2 separate regions of the Homo sapiens genome follow, and region 2 is linked to region 1. Evidence: promoter capture Hi-C in 16 types of primary human blood cells and fetal thymus (Javierre and others, 2016). All regions are on one chromosome and are shown on one strand. The core of a region is centred on a gene start or on the middle of the fragment in contact, and the rest is flanking DNA. Distances in the headings are between cores, read along the strand shown.

The links. The method cuts DNA at HindIII sites, captures the fragments that hold promoters and counts their contacts. A CHiCAGO score of 5 or more calls a contact.
Region 2: the fragment with the promoter of CC2D2A here is called in contact with the fragment with the promoter of FAM200B in region 1 in 17 of 17 cell types (M2 macrophages, M1 macrophages, M0 macrophages and 14 more); the score reaches 21.8 in M2 macrophages.

What each region holds. Positions count from the first base shown.
Region 1 is chr4:15,680,511-15,683,337 of GRCh38, reverse strand. It overlaps FAM200B (family with sequence similarity 200 member B), which reads right to left and starts at 1,511. Exons shown (of 2, transcript NM_001145191.2): 1 at 1,437-1,511. It also overlaps a transcript of FBXL5 not described here. RefSeq lists enhancers at 1,242-1,291, 1,302-1,541, 1,712-2,011. The HindIII fragment of the contact is 4,207 bases long and covers 397-2,827 here.
Region 2 is chr4:15,468,478-15,471,177 of GRCh38, reverse strand. It overlaps CC2D2A (coiled-coil and C2 domain containing 2A), which reads right to left and starts at 1,296. Exons shown (of 37, transcript NM_001378615.1): 1 at 1,121-1,296. The HindIII fragment of the contact is 6,808 bases long and covers 1-2,700 here.

The DNA.
Region 1 (2,827 bases), core at 262-2,761:
TGTGGTGATGAAAGCATGGGGAAGTTTTTTTTTAACTCAATAGGATGTGAGGTATCATCTAAGTAAGAGGCCGAAGTAGAAAATGTTGCAAGTTTGTCAGAAGAAAATATGAAATATTAATAATTGTTAAGGAATGTGATAATATGATGGACTAGGAAAATGTTTTTGGATTTTTAGTCTGGCTGGTTGTCTTACTTGCTTAATGCAATGATTGTTATTGTTACAATGCTTGATAGTCTAAAATTCCCCGTCACTAATCTTTTATATCCTAAGATATATCTCTAGTGCGCTGTATCATCTTCTGAAAATACAGCTCTAATCAGCTTCCTCATAACTGGAAAAGCATTTAATGGCGCCGAGCTTGTGTAAGCTCTTCAGGATAATATCCTTTAAGCTTAAGCCTCATCTTTCCAGGTTTCTCCTTCATCACATGATCTCCATACATTCTACATTTCAGTACTAAAAGTATGGAAATTCTTGAAATAGTTCATGCACTTTCATGTCTCTGCTTTTGGCTAGTATTCCTTTTGCCTGGAATACTCTTGTTGGGTCACATGAAGTCCTATTTATTCTTTTCTACTTAGTTCAAATGCTACAGCAGCCATGCATTCAACTAACATTTAGCTACCTACAGTGCCTAAAGTATGTCAGGCACTGGAGATACTAAACAATGAACAGTGACATATTAAAATAACAGAATATCTGTTCAGCTATTAAGATGAATAAGGTGGAGTTACACAACACTGACAAATCTCAAAAACATTATGTAAAACAAGCTAGCTGCAAAAAGATGTACACATTACAGATTGCATAAAGGTGGTTAGGAGAGTGGTTTCCTTAGGCAAAAGGAAAGAGAATGAGACGGGGTAGAGCTGACAAAGGACTTCAATCACTTATATAATCATTTATTTCTCCAATTCAGTGGTGAGTACACATGTGTTATAGTTTTGTTTCTACCTTTTTTCTGTCTAAAATCGTCTATTTAAAAAAAGCATCTTTAAGGCTGGATACCTTCCTGAAGGCACTGGAAATCTGTCATACTGCCACTAACTTAAAATTACCTTCCACCTCTTGCATTTCCCTTTGTTTCCTGTTTTGACATTGCGCACACATTAGTTAGTACACTAGGCCTTAAGAGTGGAAACTGCCAGGTACCAGCTTTAGCTAGATTAAAACATGACCCTCTTCCCAGGAGACTCCTGACCGGTTTTCTCGTCCTCCAGGGACCCAGCTAGGATTTCAATGAACTTTGGCCTGAACCCCTCGGCCGACCCTAGAATAATCGCCCTTCAGGCCCGGATTGCTTCTGCTCTCACCTTCCCTCAATTCATACGGGGGGCAAAACCAGACTGTATTTCCCGCAACGAACCCTGGAATGCTTCGCTTTAGCGGACTCCGGTCCACTCCCATCAGAGGATGCCCTTCTTTCGCCTCACCTCCAGCCCAGCCGCAGCGACCCGGCCGGGCCCAGCGCTGCAAGCCTCAGGTCTCTCCAGCAGAGCTGCGCCTCTGCTCTCCCCACACTTCCCTCCGCAACACCACTTCCGGCCTACCTCACAAATTCCCCATTCCAGCCGAAAAGAACTGGATCGGCCCTCTGCGCATGCGTGAGACCGGGGCGGTGTCCGGGGGTGCCGGGAGCGGGCGGTGCAGGCTCCACTTTTCCACTTCCCTACGCTCTGTCGGCAGTCTCGCGGGATTTCCGCCTCTCGCGGGAGTTATTTGAATGCCAGGGCGGTAACGACTCCCTAGGCGCCTGGGGCCCTCTGACAAGAAACCCTAGGAGACACCGCGGAGAACTCTGCCTCTGAGCTGGTGGGCGGGCCGGATGTAGCCGAGCGCGGACAGGGCTAGTCCGGACAGAGTCCCAGAGCCATGGGAGCGAAAAGAGACTGCTGCGGATTAAGGAGGCCTTTCGGTTGGCGCAGCAGCCACACCACAACCAGGCGAAGCAGGTAGTGGCGCTGAATCGCTCCTGCCGCGGGGTAAGCGCTCCCGGCCCGCGCCCGCCCCAGCCCCGACCTGGCGGGGCCAGGACGCTGGTTCATACACTCCAAGGTGATTTTCATAGTCTTTGTGGAAGAATTAGAGAATTTTGAACTTTGATATCATTGCACGTGTTTACTTATTTAGAGAATCGCATTGTGTTTAATAATCATAGTATTCCTGTGCGACTCTTTAGGTTAGCAGATCATTGATTTTTAACATAAAACTGCATTTCATTAAATAGATTTAAATATGTATGTATATTTCTGTCCTCTAATGATTGTAACAAAGCAGATTTCTTGATCATTAACAAGATAGGTTCGTGCAAATAAGTGCATCTTTGTCACAAACCAAATTTTTTTGTGGTTGAGATATATATTTATATATATATGTGAAACAAAAAACATATAAAGGAGAATATATATATATTCTTATATATATAATATATACTGCTTTATTTTTTTGGGTTGACATATATATGTCATATATAGTTTTTTTTTAAATTCTACCTTAAACAGGGAAACATGTTAGATACAGGAGCTTGAATTTCAACTCTGAAACTTAATGCGACTTTATCAGCATTTCTCTTTCTCAAGCTACTTACTTCTTGTAGGATTACACAGTCAAATTTTTAAAAATTTTTGATTCTCCAACTGGATTTTTTTTTTTAATTTTTGAGACGGAGTCTCACTCTCTCGCCCAGGCTGGAGTGCAGTGGCGCAGCCTCGGCTCACTGCAACCTCAGCCTCCTGGTTCAAGCGATTCCCCTGCCACAACCTCCCGAGTAGCTGGGATTACAGGCGACCGCCACCATGCCAGGCTAATTTTTGTATTTTTCAAA
Region 2 (2,700 bases), core at 47-2,546, 210 kb after region 1:
ATACATTGTTTTGGAATACATTATCTTATTCTACAAGTTATTCCAGCTGCAGTTTCCCTTAGCATAAGGTTAGTGACCAATAGCTTTATAGAATCATTTAATCAGCTCGATATAATGTACACTGGCCTTGAAGAGTACACATGAGTACCATATTTGAGCTGTGTTACGTGATATATGACCAGTGCATTTACATGATGTGCTAAGTACTGGAAGCCCCTCCCTGGATGTCATCCCACTGTCCTCTCAGTGTTTTTATAAATCTCTTATGGCACTTAGCTCATTGTACTCTTATCATGTGTTTATAGGTCTGTTTTCCCAGCAAATTCTGAGCTTCTGACCTAGTCTAATTTATGTTTGCACACTCTAAACTTAAATTCATTGCCTGGTGCATTGTTGATGCTCCATAAATGTTTGAATGAATGACTCTATAAGTGAGCTCTAGGATATATATATATATATATATATATATATATATATATATATATATAGAGAGAGAGAGAGAGAGAGAGAGAGAGAGAGAGAGAGAGATTTCATGCTGGTGCTGAATTTATTTGCAGAAAAGGTTATATGAAAATGCAGTAGCAAACATATTTCTTATTTGACTTTATTAGCTTTTCATACCACCTCTTTGCAATGAAGGGAAACAAACAATCAGCTTAAGTTGTAGCCAGTACATTTTCTTGAAGTCTTTGGAAAGCACAGCAACTCTTAGCACTGTGGTTAGTAGCCCTTTCTCTGTCTCATACCAAGAAAAGTGTATTTTGCAGTAATTAGTGCTTCTCCCCTTAAGCCAGTTTGAACTAAAAGGCCCATAAATGCAACACGCAGCTAATGTTTCACAGAGCTTTGGTCAGAGAGCATTTTCACTCAGGACTTGTGATGAACTGGACTTACATTTCCTGCAAACCAGATACCAGATAGCAGCTCAAATCAAAGCTGCCAAGTAATGGTCTATGTTCCCATTTCAGAAAGTAAAAACATAAATAACGATGAGAGCCCCTAAATTTACAATTCATTAAATCCAGTCTCACGGTATCCTGGAGAGGCTGAACTTCAAGCCGGGTAACTGAAAACAGGAAATCACTGTTGCAGCCTAAAGTCCGGTTAGGGACTGATTTACCTTAAGAAACTTTACAAAAGGCACTTTGCAGATTCTGCATTCTAGGATGGAAGTGGAGAGAGACGGTGCTGTTGAATCTTTTAAAAGGGTCCGGAGGGAAAGGCTGAGTGTTGGAGATGCCCCTGGGCTCCTCCCTGGGAAGCTGCAGCCATGTCTTGGAGCAAAAACACCAGCTTAGCAACCCGTTCCTAAGGAAGGTCACTCGGTAGCTTTTTTTTTTTTCCTTTAAAGTGACAGGCTACTTCCAGTAGTGGAGTACAAGCATGCTGGGTAAGCAGAGACGCACAGCCTGCAGTAGAAGGACGGAGAGAAATCAACATGAGCAGCACTGGAAATTAGGTCAAGCCTTAAGAGCTGCCCCTCCCTCATGTCATCCGGTCGTCTTGCATTTCCAATGAAGAACAGGCTCAGAGGTGGGGGGATTTAGAATCTTAAAAGGTCGTCATTACATGGTGAAGCTGTCTAACGTGGCAGCAGCAAAAGCTCTGTGGAGGTGCTGCAGAGTACCAACAAATGTTGCACTTGAGTGTTTTCCAGTTAAAAGTGGAAGGTTGAACGCACAAGTTTAATCTTTGCCTATTCTCTGAATCCCACTGCAATTCCTGAAAACGGATATAAATGTTATGGCTCAAAAAAGTTGGAAAAAAAAAAAGAGGGAGAGGTAGGAGGCAAAGTAGCTGGAAGAGTAATAGAATGAATGGAGCCAAGGAAACACACTCCAATAGACTAGTGTGTATGTGCACATGTGTTTGTGTGTATTTGTGTCTGTGTGTATGGTGTGTGTATGTTTGTGTGTATGTGTATTGACTGTATCTTCTTATTTTCTGTATTCTTGATGCTCTGGCATTTGGAGCCTTGATCCTGGAGAAACTGATTCTCCTATGTTAGCTAATTTCTAGAGATAGCAAATGATTCCCCTGAAATATGCAAAGTCTCCTTTGATATACAAGCCAACCAATCCAGAGCCCACACAACCATCTCCATTATCAAACTCTCACACACTAAGCCAATATTCCTCCTGTCCTAAGTCACCCCAGGTCCAGATACCAGACCACTATAGCCCAGAGAACACCACGATTATTCAAGCTATCCACTCCTAAATTTATGCAGCACCCTACCCTGCTTCACCTATTCCTTCCTGGGAAAACCCTAGTAAAGGCTCTGTGCTGTACTCTGCTGTCTCCGTTCTGCCTTCTGACCAACATTGGTTCTTCCCTATGTGGTCCTGTGTGGCATGCCATGTTCTATGATTTGAATGTGTCTTCCCAAAAGCATGTATTGGAAACTTAATCCCTAACACAATGGTGTCGGGAGGTGGCACCTAATGAGAGGCAATTAGGCTGTAGGGCTCTGCCCTCATAAATGCATTAATGCCATTATTGCAGGAGTGGATTCCTTATAAAAGAATGAATTTGGCCTCGTTTTCTCTCTTTCTCTTTCTTGCTCTCATGTTTTCTTGCCTTGCACCATAGGATGGTGCAGCAAGAAGACCCTTGCAGGATGCCAGCCCCTTGATCTTGGACTTCCCAGCCACCAGAACTGTGAAAAATAAATTTCTGTTCATTATAAATTGCCCAGTC